Regions from separate parts of the Homo sapiens genome. Here all the other regions are linked to region 1. Evidence: promoter capture Hi-C in 16 types of primary human blood cells and fetal thymus (Javierre and others, 2016). All regions are on one chromosome and are shown on one strand. Each heading gives the region's core, a stretch centred on a gene start or on the middle of the fragment in contact. The rest is flanking DNA. Distances are from core to core; before and after follow the strand shown.

Evidence for each region. Contacts are between HindIII fragments. The CHiCAGO score rates a contact against its expected background, and 5 or more counts as called.
Region 2: a contact is called between a fragment that was not itself captured here and the fragment with the promoter of RPS15 in region 1, in 1 of 17 cell types (naive B cells). The highest score is 8.0, in naive B cells.
Region 3: the fragment with the promoter of ONECUT3 here is called in contact with the fragment with the promoter of RPS15 in region 1 in 1 of 17 cell types (naive B cells); the score reaches 5.9 in naive B cells.
Region 4: the fragment with the promoter of CNN2 here is called in contact with the fragment with the promoter of RPS15 in region 1 in 5 of 17 cell types (erythroblasts, total B cells, activated CD4 T cells and 2 more); the score reaches 7.2 in erythroblasts.

The regions. Positions count from the first base shown.
Region 1 is chr19:1,436,801-1,439,645 of GRCh38, forward strand. RPS15 (ribosomal protein S15) reads left to right here and starts at 1,596. Exons shown (of 4, transcript NM_001018.5): 1 at 1,596-1,628; 2 at 2,007-2,092. The coding sequence starts at 1,626. RefSeq lists enhancers at 1,341-2,211, 1,620-1,839. The HindIII fragment of the contact is 15,360 bases long and covers 1-2,845 here.
Region 2 is chr19:1,792,890-1,796,130 of GRCh38, forward strand. ATP8B3 (ATPase phospholipid transporting 8B3) reads right to left here. Exons shown (of 29, transcript NM_138813.4): 17 at 3,188-3,241; 18 at 2,986-3,098. Among named protein-coding and RNA genes, the nearest start is that of ATP8B3, 18 kb to the right of the region's middle. RefSeq lists enhancers at 2,721-3,241, 2,941-3,235 and a silencer at 2,941-3,235. The HindIII fragment of the contact is 226 bases long and covers 1,769-1,994 here.
Region 3 is chr19:1,752,126-1,755,381 of GRCh38, forward strand. It overlaps ONECUT3 (one cut homeobox 3), which reads left to right and starts at 1,381. Exons shown (of 2, transcript NM_001080488.2): 1 at 1,381-2,729. The coding sequence starts at 1,538. The HindIII fragment of the contact is 18,116 bases long and covers 1-3,256 here.
Region 4 is chr19:1,024,916-1,028,083 of GRCh38, forward strand. It overlaps CNN2 (calponin 2), which reads left to right and starts at 1,693. Exons shown (of 7, transcript NM_004368.4): 1 at 1,693-1,809. The coding sequence starts at 1,747. RefSeq lists an enhancer at 619-1,350 and a silencer at 1,341-1,980. The HindIII fragment of the contact is 13,555 bases long and covers 1-3,168 here.

The DNA of each region.
Region 1 (2,845 bases), core at 346-2,845:
AAAATGGGTAACATGGACGGGCCCGACACATAGGTCCTGTGCTCCTCGGGACGGAGACTCAGCCCTCCCTGAGTACAGTGTAATTGGCTTCCCTTGGGACTGTGGGGACGGCTGGGGAGAGCTCAGCTCCCTGGACAGTGCCACAGCTAAGCTCGGGTTCCCAGAGGTTTTGTGCTTTTTTTTTTTCTTTTTCTTTTTTTTTTTTTTTTTTTTTTTTGAGAAGGAGTCTCTGTCGCCCAGGCTGGAGTGCAGTGGTGCGATCTCAGCTCACTGCAACCTCCGCCTCCCGGGTTCAAGCGGTTCTCCTGCCTCAGCCTCCCAAGGAGCTGGGATTACAGGCACCCACCACCACGCCTGGCTAATTTTTTGTATTTTTAGTAGAGTTAGGGTTGGTCAGCTTGGTCTTGAACTCTTGACCTCAGGTGATCCGCCCGCCTCGGCCTCCCAAAGTGCTGGAATTACAAGCATAAGCCACCACGCCCAGCCAGGTGCCACATCCATAGTTAATAGTCACCTTCAACTTTATACTTAATTCCAGTAAGATACAGAAACATCACTCCTAGGCCAGGCGCGGTGGCTCACGCCTGTAATCCCAGCACTTTGGGAGGCCAAAGCGGGTGGATCACCTGAGGTCAGGAGTTCGAGACCAACATGGCCTGGCCAACATGGAGAAACCGTGTCTTTACTAAAAATACAAAATTAGCCGGGCACGGTAACAGGTGCCTGTAATCCCAGCTACTTGGGAGGCTGAGGCAGGAGAATCGCTTGAACCCAGGAGGCAGAGGTTGCAGTGAGCCGAGATCACACCACTGCACTCCAGCCAGGGCAACAAGAGTGAAACTCTGTCTCAAAAAAAAAAAAAAGTCACTCCTACATAGTTCTAGTTACTCCTTCTCTTTGAGCTATCATTATTCACATTACATTTACATATCTTAACAAACCCAGTGATATTCCTAACTTTATTTTTGAGGCAGGGTCTTGCTCTGTCGCCCAGGCTGGAGTGCCGTTGGCGCGATCACGGCTCACTGCAGCCTTGACCTCCTGGGCTGAAGGCTCAGCCTCCCGAGTAGCTGGGAATTTTTTGTACTTTTTATTCTTTTATGTCCGTGTGTACACAAATTTTTGTATTTTTTTGTAGAGAGGCAGTCTCACTGTGTTGTCCTTACTAACTTTATATACAAAATTTTATCTGTTAAAGCCGGAATGGTTCTTTTCAGCGAGGCCCTGTCCCTGCTCCAGTATCTGTAATGAATTCTCGTGTTCCTCCCACAGTGGGACCTGAACCGCCAAACCGCACCTACGAGCAAACGGTAGGCGCTCCATAAATACTTGTTGATGTGGGTGCCATCGTGTAGATGACGGAGCACGAACCCGAGGCTCAGACAGGGGCGGCGACTTGTCCAAAGTCCCACTCCGTGGAGGAAGCGGCTCTGCAGACCTCAGGCGGCGGCTGCTCTAATCCCTGCAGCCTGTGTTTTGCCCTCCAGACGGCAGAGGGCGCGTGTTCGCCGCCGGGAAAGCGGAAGCGCGTGTGCGCGCACGGCCGAGGGGGCGGGACATGCCGGCAGTCTCGCGATAACTGCGCAGGCGCGGACCAAAGCGATCTCTTCTGAGGATCCGGCAAGATGGTGAGTGTTGCGATTTGGCGCGTCTCTGCCGGGCCTATCCGGCTCCATCCAACCTCTGACCGTCTCGCGGGGGCCGCAGTTCGTCCCCGCGGCTACGGCGGCTTGCTCCCGACCCTGCAGGCGGCTGGATGTTGGGGCGAGGGGCGGACTTGGTGGGTGTCGGGACGACGCGGGGCTGGGAAGGCCTGTCCGGGCCTTCATGTCCGGGTCCTCGTAACCCGGAGCCGCGAGTGATCCCCGGGGACGGGTCGAAGCGGTGTGTCCCTGTCGGGCTTCTGTCCCCGGCGGCGCCGCGCGTCTTCCGCGGTGTCCTCGGGCCCGGTGGCCCCGGGAGATGGGTGTCGGGATCCCGCTGACGCCCGATCCGCGCCCGCACAGGCAGAAGTAGAGCAGAAGAAGAAGCGGACCTTCCGCAAGTTCACCTACCGCGGCGTGGACCTCGACCAGCTGCTGGACATGTCCTAGTAAGGGCGGCCGCGGGGGTCGCGGGCAGGGGCTGGGCCAGCGGTGGGGCTTGTCCGGGTGAGGGCGGCGGGGCGGGGGTCCAAGCGCCTCTGCGGCGGTGGGCGGGCACGGTCTCCGCGCGGGTTTGGAACTGAGTGTGGTCTTGCGCCCAGAAAACTGTCCAGAGACGTTGAGGTTTTTGCTTATTTGCAACCTGCCCCCCGTTGTTCACTTTTCCGCGGCTTAGTTGGAAGGTGTAGCCCCTGTCTGTAGCCCACGTGACTTAGAATAAGGGGCTGCGTTAGACTCCTTAGATTTTAAGGGCGGTGGAGGTCGCTGGGTCCTTTCCAGGCAGGGTGGTGGTGGGCATCTGGCTTGCGCTTTTATTTTTTAATTTTTGATTATTTTGAGGCGGAGTCTCATCCTGTCGCCCAGGCTGGAGTGCAATGGCTCCGTCCCAGCTCACTGCAGCCTCCCACTCCCGGGTTCAAGCGATTCTCTTGCCTCAGCCTCTCGAGTAGCTGGGATTAGAGGGCCCCCCCACCACGTCCGGCTAATTTTTGTATTTTTAGTAGAGACGAGTTTCAGTGTTGCCCAGGCTGGTCTCAAACTCCTGACCTCAGGTGATCCACCTGCCTCGGCCTCCCAAAGTGCTGGGATTACAGGCGTGAACACCGCGCCCGACCTTGATTTTTGATTATTTGTGGAAACAGCGTTTCTCTGTGTCGTCCAGGTTGGTCTTGAACTCCTGGGCTCAAGCGACCCTCCCGCCT
Region 2 (3,241 bases), core at 632-3,131, 360 kb after region 1:
GAGTATCAGAGCAAGATTCTGTTTCAAAAAAAAAAAAAAAGAAAAGAAAACTGAGCTGCCCCTGCTCCCCACCTACTCTGTCTCAGACACCTGCTCCCACCCCCAGACCCTCAGCTCTCTTTTGCCTCCAGACCTTCTTGGAGGACTGTTTCCCTGCCAGGAACACCTTCCCTATGCTTTGCACAGCAAATTCTTTTTTTTTTTTTTTCTCGGGGGTGGGGGATAGGGTCTCACTTTGTCACCCAGGCTGGAGTGCAGTGGCCCAATCATAGCTCACTGCAGCCTCGAACTCCTGGGCTCAAGTGATTCTCCTGTCTCTACCTTCCAAATAGCTGGGATCATAGGCACATGCCATCACACCCGGCTAATTTCTTTGTATATATATATATTTTTTAAATAGAGGTGGTTTCACCATGTTGCCTGGGCTGGTCTCGAACTCCAGAGCTCAAGCAAGCTGCACACCTGAGCCTCAAAACGCTGAGATTACAGGCAGAAGCCACCACACCTGGCCTGCATGGCGAATTCTGACTATCACTCAAGACCTTCTATGCAGTCCACCCACCCGGTGCCTTCCCCAGCTGGGGCTCCCCCAGTCCCAGGCCCCTCCCTCTGACCCCTCAACTTTGGCTCTCTGAGCCCCTTCCTTGGGCCCCTCATTTCTCAAGGGCCAGACCCAGGGTTGGGGCCTCTAGGGGCTGGGAGGAAACTGGGCAGGCCCAGAGAGCAGGCACCCCAAGGGTGGTCGGGGGGTCCCCAAGGAAGGTGCCCTTACGGCTTCTTACCCCCCGACCCTGCCCCCAGCTTTGTGCTCCAAGGGGTGGCCTTAGGTCTCAAATTTGTTTATTTATTTATTTTTATTTATTTATTTTTTGAGATGGAGTCTCACTCTGTTGCCCAGGCTGGAGTGTAGTGGCGCGATCTTGGCTCACTGCAAGCTCTGCCTCCCGGGTTCAAGCGATTCTCCTGCCTCAGCCTCCCGAGTAGCTGAGACTACAGGCCTGCACCACCACATCTGGCTGATTTTGTAGTTTTAGTAGAGACAGGGTTTCACCAGGTTGGTCAGGCTGGCCTCGAACTCCTGACCTCAAATGATCTGCCCGCCTCCCAAAGCACTGGGATTACAGGCGTGAGCCATCGCGCCAGCCTGTTTATTAAGAGACAGGGGTCTCGCCCTGTCGCCCAGGCTGGAGTGCAGTGGTGCGATCACAGCTTGCTGTAGCCTCCACCTCCTGCACTCAAGCGATCCTCCTGCCTCAGGCTCCCAAAGTGCTGGGACCACAGGCACGCGCCACCATGTCTGATTTCCCTTTTGTTGTTGATGGGGCACGGGTCCAAGAGCTTGGGCTTGACACAGCAGAGGAGCTTCACGGACATTGGCAGCCTCCGACAGGCCTTGACCCTTCTTCCGGCCTCAATTTACCCATCCATTCCCTGGGGTGGCTGAGCTAAGCTGACCTGCTGAGCTCCTGGGCTCTAGGTCATTATTGTGACCGCACTTCCAGTTCAGAGTGCCCCCACATCCTGGCAGAGCAGGGGACACAGGACATCTTCCCACACACACCCCGCTGCCCTGTGCTCCATGCTGCTGGGGCCCCAGCAGAACCTGTGAGGAGCCCCCAGGCTGGACGCAGAATCCTCTGGCCCTGTAGGGTCAGGGCTGGACCAGGGGGAGGCAGCCTGGGGTGATGACAGCCCCATGTTGGCAGGGGGTGGGGCAGGAAAGGCCCCATGTGTGGGGAGCTTGTGGCTGAGTCATGAGGACACCGAAAGCTTCTGAATGACAAAGGTGCAGGGAAGACCCTCCCAGCACAGGAAACAGCATGTGCAAAGGTGCCAAGGCAGCACCTGAGAGTGGGGAAGTCACAAGCCAGAAACTGGGTCCTAGGGAGTCCCTTGGTGAGGCCAAAGAGAGACCAGGCTGGAGAGGTCAGCAGGGGACAGAAAAAGCCTCAAATCCTGGGCCGAGGAGTTCGGGCTTCCCCCACAGAGTGGGAAGCTTTGGAGCAGACGGAGCTGAGTGTGTCCTGGCAGCTGGGCCAGCTCAACCGCACGGTCGTCTTGTGCAAATGAGAAAAATACACCCTTGGCCGGGCGCGGTGGCCTACGCCTGTAATCCCAGCACTTTGAGAGGGCGAGGCGGGTGGATCACCTGAGGTCACGAGTTGGAGACCAGCCTGGCAACATGGTGAAACCCCATCTCTACTAAAAATACAAAATTGGCCGGGCGTGGTGGCGGGCGCCTGTAGTCTCAGCTACTCAGGAGGCTGAGGCAGGAGGATAGCTTAAGCCTGGGAGGCAGAGGTTGCAGTGACTCAAGATTGCACCATTGCACTCCAGCCTGGGCAACAGTGCAAGACTCCCTCTCAAAAAAGAAAAGGCAGGCTGGGCGCGATGGCTCATGTCTGTAATCCCAGCACTTTGGGAGGCCAAGGGGGCAGATCACCTGAGGTCAGGAGTTCAAGACCAGCCTGGCCCACATGGCGAAAACCCATCTCTACTAAAAATATTAAAATTAGCTGGGTGCACTGGCGTGTGCCTGTAATTCCAGCTCCTCGGGAGGCTGAGGCAGGAGAATCACTTGAACCCGGGAGGCGGAGGTTGCAGCGAGCCAAGACTGTGCCACTGCACTCCAGCCTGGGCGACAGAGCAAGACTCTGTCTCAAAGAAAAGAAAAGAAAGACAAGACAAGAAAAAGAAAAAGACGCTCTCTCTCTGGGGGCTACACTTGGGAGTTCAGCTGCCTCCCAGCCGGTGTGTGTGTGTTTTGTGTGTTGCCGGGGGAGGGTGTTTTGTACAGTGCACAACATACCTCACTGTACATAGCCATCCCAGGTACCTGCAGCCTTCCATTTCTCCGTACAGTCTCCTCCCCTGCCTCCTCCTCCTCCTGTCCCTACACACACACACACACACACACACACACACACACACACACACACACACACACACACACACACATAAGCCAGCCTTCCTGAAGGGACTCACAGCCAAGGCCTCCTCTGTGGCAAATTCCATTGCCCCCCTCCTGTGCAAGCGTTCGAAGATGACCGTGTCGGCGCCCTTGGTGTACAGGCAGATGGCGCCCTCTGGCTTTCGAACTGTGGGGGAACAGGCCCTGCTGCCCACAGAGGCTCCCCGTCTGCCCGCCCCACCTTGGGGGGCCCAGGGCTTGGGTGGCGGGGCTCACCCAGCACCGACATCCGTTTGCGCGTGCTGTTGAAGTCCATTATGGCCAGGACCT
Region 3 (3,256 bases), core at 131-2,630, 320 kb after region 1:
TTGGTTCAGAAAATCGCATCTCCAATGTGTAGCCACGTCTACAGGGGCCAGGAAATCTGGATGCAGGTGCAAAGCTGGGGCCGGGGTTTGCCCAGAAGGTTTGCACCAAAGGGGAAGTGACAGCCTGACTGTGTCCTCCCCTCTTCCTTCAGCTTTGAGCCCTGATGCAACCCTCTGAGATGGGGGTAACTGGGGGCTCCCGCGAACCGACTGCCTGACCCATCCCCTTCCTCTTCTAGAAAGTGCACAAGCGTTACCCCGGGGGTGGGGGGGGCAGAGGCAACGGGGAAGCAGGAAGGGGCTGAGGCTGGTTTTGGACTCTGCACCGTAGCCTCTGGCCTACAAGACAGAGCATCCTCTAGATTCTGGTCTGGCCCCTCCAGATCCGCAGCCCTGACCTTACCCCACTGGCGGGATCTAGTCCCCTGGGGGTCTCTCTGATTATAGGAGCCCTTCCCCCATCTATCCCAGTTCCCAGGGGCCCCTGGGGCTCACCTGTCTCCAGGTGCTGAGAAAAAGGAGACCCCTGCCTCCCCCCACATTGAAGAGAAGCCCCAGGGACAAAGAGGAGTTTGCACCAGCGACGTCTCAGAAGACAGGGGATCCAGCCTCAGCCTCCGTGGGCTGGAGGGTGACAGGGGCTCTTAGTGGTCACCCCCAGGCTCCAGTGCCTCCAGCGGCCGCACTGTAAAAAGGCCCTGCAATTAGAAGGGGCCTTTGGCAACCCCGAGGCCGGGCAGCCCATTGTACAGTTGGGGAAACGGAGGCCCAGGTGCCCACACATGGGCAGAGGCTGACCCCTGGGGCGCACGGAGGCCCTGACCTAGCCTTAGGACCTCCCTTTTCCCCCACTTCCTCCACAAAGAGGTTGTGGGAAGGGGGCTGTGACTCCGTAGGTGTGAGTGGGAGTCGGGGGAAGCTGAGCTTGCAGTGGGGATCTAGCTCCTGGGGGTCTGTAGGGAACGGGGGGGGGGGGGGACACGTACATTACAGGCGACCGTCCAGCCACACTCCCAGAAACTCCCTGGAGATGGACTTGGGGGTGCCAGGCAGAAAGCCACATCTGGGACTCTGGAGAGAATCACACAGAGACGCGAAATCGGAGACTCTGGGTCGAGGCCCCCAGCCCCACCTGGGCAGAGTCTGTCCTCGGACCCCCGCCCGCTGTCCCCCGGGTACGGCCTGCCCCAGCGGGCGCGGGCGGGCGCAGTGGCCAGGGACGCCGAAGCCCCAAGTCTGGCCGACTTCGGCCTGCTTGGTGCTCGAGTGGGGCCGGGGCGGGCGGAGAGCGAGGCTGCGGGAGGCAGCGGTGGCAGGAGCGGGTGGGCGGGGGCGCTGACGTCAGACCCGGGCCCGGGCGCCGGCGGCCGCTCCCCTGCCACATCCTGGTGGCCGCGCTCGCAGCCGGGCCGGGCCGTGCGCCGCGCAGCCTGGCAGCCTCGCGCGCAGCCACCGGGGAGCGGGCGGGAGTCATGCAGCGGCCTTGAGCACTAGGGGCCGGCGCTGAGGAGCGCGCGCGGCGGGAGGGCAGCCGAGCATGGAGCTGAGCCTGGAGAGCCTGGGGGGCCTGCACAGCGTGGCCCACGCGCAGGCGGGCGAGCTGCTGAGCCCGGGCCACGCGCGCTCGGCGGCGGCGCAGCACCGCGGCCTGGTGGCGCCCGGGCGCCCGGGCCTGGTGGCCGGCATGGCGAGCCTGCTGGACGGCGGCGGCGGCGGCGGCGGTGGGGGCGCCGGGGGCGCGGGCGGCGCGGGCAGCGCGGGCGGCGGCGCGGACTTCCGCGGGGAACTGGCGGGCCCGCTGCACCCGGCAATGGGCATGGCCTGCGAGGCGCCGGGCCTGGGCGGCACCTACACGACGCTCACGCCCCTGCAGCACCTGCCGCCGCTCGCGGCCGTGGCCGACAAGTTCCACCAGCACGCGGCGGCCGCGGCCGTGGCCGGGGCGCACGGCGGCCATCCCCACGCGCACCCGCACCCGGCGGCCGCGCCGCCCCCGCCACCCCCGCCGCAGCGTCTGGCGGCCAGCGTGAGCGGCAGCTTCACCCTCATGCGCGACGAGCGGGCGGCGCTCGCCTCCGTGGGCCACCTCTACGGACCCTACGGCAAGGAGCTGCCCGCCATGGGGTCGCCGCTGTCGCCGCTGCCCAACGCGCTGCCGCCCGCGCTGCACGGCGCCCCGCAGCCCCCGCCGCCGCCACCACCCCCGCCGCTGGCCGCCTACGGCCCGCCAGGCCACCTGGCTGGGGACAAGCTGCTGCCGCCCGCCGCCTTCGAGCCGCACGCCGCGCTGCTGGGACGCGCGGAGGACGCACTGGCCCGCGGGCTGCCCGGAGGCGGCGGCGGCACAGGCAGCGGCGGAGCGGGCAGCGGGAGCGCCGCGGGGCTGCTGGCGCCGCTGGGCGGGCTGGCGGCGGCCGGGGCGCACGGGCCGCACGGGGGAGGCGGCGGCCCCGGCGGGAGCGGCGGCGGCCCCAGCGCGGGCGCAGCGGCCGAGGAGATCAACACCAAGGAGGTGGCGCAGCGCATCACGGCGGAGCTGAAGCGCTACAGCATCCCGCAGGCAATCTTCGCGCAGCGGATCCTGTGTCGCTCTCAGGGCACGCTCTCCGACCTGCTGCGCAACCCCAAGCCGTGGAGCAAGCTCAAATCCGGCCGCGAGACCTTCCGCAGGATGTGGAAGTGGCTGCAGGAGCCAGAGTTCCAGCGCATGTCGGCGCTGCGCTTGGCAGGTAGGAGCGTGGCGCGCAGGGCCAGACCCTGGGGGCGCCGGCTCTGGACTCCCGAGCACCTAGCGGGGCGGCGGCCGATGCCCGGGGCCAGCGCCCCAAGCCCCGCCCGTGCGCCCCGGCAGCCCGGGACCCCCTATCAGGAAGCTAGACCGCGATCCGCGCCGCTGCCCGTTTGTACCGTTGCCAAAAGGGAGAAAGGGATTGTGCCGCCTCCCCGCCCCCCGGTCGCCGCTTCTGCCCCTTTCGGGAGCGCGTAGGGGTTCTCTAGTCCTTGTTAGACTGCTGGGAGGCTCCGAGCCTCTCCCCAAGCAGCCCTCAGGGAAGCTCATTGTGTGTGTGCGTGTGTGTGTGTGAGCGCGCGCCTGTTGGGGGGAGCTGTGTCCCCGAACGAGCTGCTGTTGTCGGCTAAGGTGCCACTCCCCTCCTCCAGAGTGGGTGGAGAGGGGCTGTTGAGCCCCCAGCCCCGGGCCACAGAGCTCCGAGACGTTGCGGCGGGCGCCTGCAGCTCAGCAGCAGAGGCCGAGCCC
Region 4 (3,168 bases), core at 443-2,942, 410 kb before region 1:
TGCTTCCCTGATGGCACCAGCCACACTTCCAGTGCTCAGTAGCCCCATGGCCAGTGGCTACAGTAGTAGATAGTGCCACATTGAAAATTTCCTTCATCTCAGAATAACAGAAATGGTCAGCACTGGTCTAAAATGACATGGGTCGGCCAGGTGCAGTGGTTCAAGCCTGTAATCACAGTACTTTGGGAGGCTGAGGCGGGTGGATCACCTGAGGTCAGGGGTTCGAGACCAGCCTGGCCAACATGGTGAAACCCCATCTCTACTAAAAATAAAATAAAATAAAATAAAATAAAATAAAATAAAATAAAATAAAATAAAATGTGTCAAACTCCTATTGATGCTTCAAAACCCCATCTCCCTTGCCTCCTCTTACATGCAGCTTTCCTTGATTCCTCCGACAGAGCCCCAACTCTCCCTCCAGTTCCTCCAGCCCCAAGCCTCTCATTCTGTCCTGTACTTGCTCATATAGGGAAACAGGGTGGGCGGGGTGGGGGGGTTCCGCCTGTGCTGGCTCATACAGGGAATCCGGGTTGGGGGTTGGTCTGTGCCAGCTCTGTCTTCCTGGGCATGGGCTGGGCCAGAGCTAAGGTCTCCTGAGAGCCAGCACTGCCTGGCAGGAGACTGTCCCGGAGACTTTTTAATAATTTATTATTATTAGGGTTTTTTTGTGTTTTTTTTTTTTGTTTTTTTTTTTAAGACGGAGTCTTGCTCTGTCGCCCAGGCTGGAGTGCAGTGGCGCGATCTCGACTTACTACAACCTCCGCCTCCTGGCTTCAAGTGATCCTCCCACCTCAGCCTCCTCAGTAGCTGGAATTACAGGCATGTGCCCCCATGCCCGGCTAATTTTTGTATTTTTAGTAGAGACGGAGTTTCGCCATGTTAGCCAAGCTGGTCTGGAACTCCTGACCTCAAGTGATCCGCCCGCCTCGGCCTTCCAAAGTGCTGGGATTGCAGGCGTGAGCCACTCGGATTTTTATTTTTATTTATTTATTTATTTTTAGAGAGAGGCTCTTGCTCTGCTGCCCAGGCTGGAGCGTCATGTTGTGATGATAACTCACTGCAGCTTCGACCTCTTGGGCTCAACGGATCCTCCCCCTTCGGCCTCAGCCTCCCAAGTAGCTAGAACTCCAGGTGCAAGCTACCGCACCCAGTAAGAATCCTATTCTCTTTTGGACTGACAAACTCCTACTCATCCAACAAAGCCCCAGCTCCAATGGCCCCTTCTCTGAGGAACCTGCCCTGGTTCCCTGGTCCACCTCCCAGCTAGTAGAGTTCCCTGGGAAGGGGTTAGACGCCTCTAAGTGGCAGAGAGGGGCCCTCATTCCTGCCCCAAAGGTAGCCTTCTCCCCTCCCCTTTCTGGCAGAAGAGAAGTCTGAGATGGAGAAAGAGTGAGAGCCGCCCACGAGCTCTGAGCAGAGAGCCCGCAGGAGTGCCACGTCCCGGCGGCCTCGGCCCCTCCCTGCCTCAGTTTCCCGTGGCATCAAAGGGGGCGAGGGGCCCCTCCAGGCCTCTGGTGACGGGGGTGCTGTGCCCAGGCGGGGGTCCGGGGGCGACCGAGGGGGCTCAGGAAGTCCGCGGCCGCAGGAATTCGGCGCCTCCAGGCCTTATAAGGACATTTGCGCTCCGGGCCAATCAGCGGCGGGGGCGTGGCGCGCGGAGCCCGGCGCGTCCCAACCCCGCGCCAGCCCGGCGGTCCCGTCCCGTCCCGTCCTGTGCGGCCCCGTCCCGCCGCCCGCCCGCCAGCCATGAGCTCCACGCAGTTCAACAAGGGCCCCTCGTACGGGCTGTCGGCCGAGGTCAAGAACCGGGTGAGTGAGGGGCGCCCCTTGTCCCCCCGACAGCGCGGCCGTCGCACGCTCCGACCGGTGCAGGAGCCCCCAGGCGCCCCCGGCACCTCCCGGGCAGGGAGCTTGGAGACCCGGGGCGGACGGGCCCTTGTTCTCCCTGACGCCTGGTGGGGGGATGTCTGCGGGCACCCCCTGAGGCTCCCGCGAATCTTGGGGAGCACCCAGGTCTGAGATCTGGGGGACGAGTGACCCATTCCCCCCCCCAACATCTAGGGGTAGTTGGGTCTGACTTCGTCCCCTCGCCATGGCCCCAGGACCCCCACGTGTGAAGCCCCTGGCGCCCACTCAACCTTCGAGAAGGTCCGTTCAAGGTCCGACAACGCTCTGGGGGTCTGGGGGGGACCCCAGCAACCCCGTCATCTCCTGGCCACACTTCTGCTTTTGGGGCCTCTTAGCTTTGGGAGGGGAAGGGGCATGGCCGAGTGGTTTTTGAGAAGTGTTACCCCCCCACAAACAGGAATTTCCTGGCCTCTGGGACACCTTGGGGGTGTCTTGGGGGGAGGGGCGGTAGCCGCTTTGCACGGTCTTTGTCTCCCATCTGACTAATTTAAACGGATAACAAAGAGGTTCTCTGAAGGTGGCCCTGAGATATGTGGGGTTTTGCAGCCTCGAAAGAAGAGCTGGGGCCCGGCAGGGCGCGGGGGCTCACGCCCGTAATCCCAGCACTTTGGGGGGCGGAGCTGGGTGGATGGCTTGAGCCCAGCGAGTTCGAGACCAGTCTGGGCAACATGGCGAAACCCCATCTCTATAATTAAAAACAAGCCAGGGCTAGGGGAGACACTTTTTAAGAGAGCACTTGTGGTTCTAGCTCAGAGAGGACCAGACACTTCTGCAGGGTCACACAGCAGGGTCCTGGACAGGATTCCCAGGGAAAGTGGGGGGCGGGGGTTGTGATGCGAGACCCACGGACAGGACCGGGACCTGACCCTCCAGGACCTTCCAGCTGGAGGGGGGTGTCGTCCCCGCCCACCCCCTCCCCCGACGCCCACTGGGCACCTGGGAAGGTGTCCTTACAGCTGACTTCTGCAGGGGAAACTGCCTCTGCACGCTCTGAGGGCACCGGCCCTGCCAGCCCCAACAGCCACCTGCCCGGCGGCACTCCAGGGCCGGCAGACTGGAGGGAGAATTCCTGCTTCCCCGCTGTGAGCCCCTGCAAGCCTTCAGACCAGCTCTTGGCCAAAAAGGGAGGCTGAGGCTTGGGGTGGTCAAGGCCTGAGCCAGGGTCCCCAGCCCGGGGCTCACGACTCCTCCTTCAAGGGGCCATCTGCACCCTGCATTCATAGAGCCCCCCGTGCAGTGGGGTGGGCACCCTGCCGCACC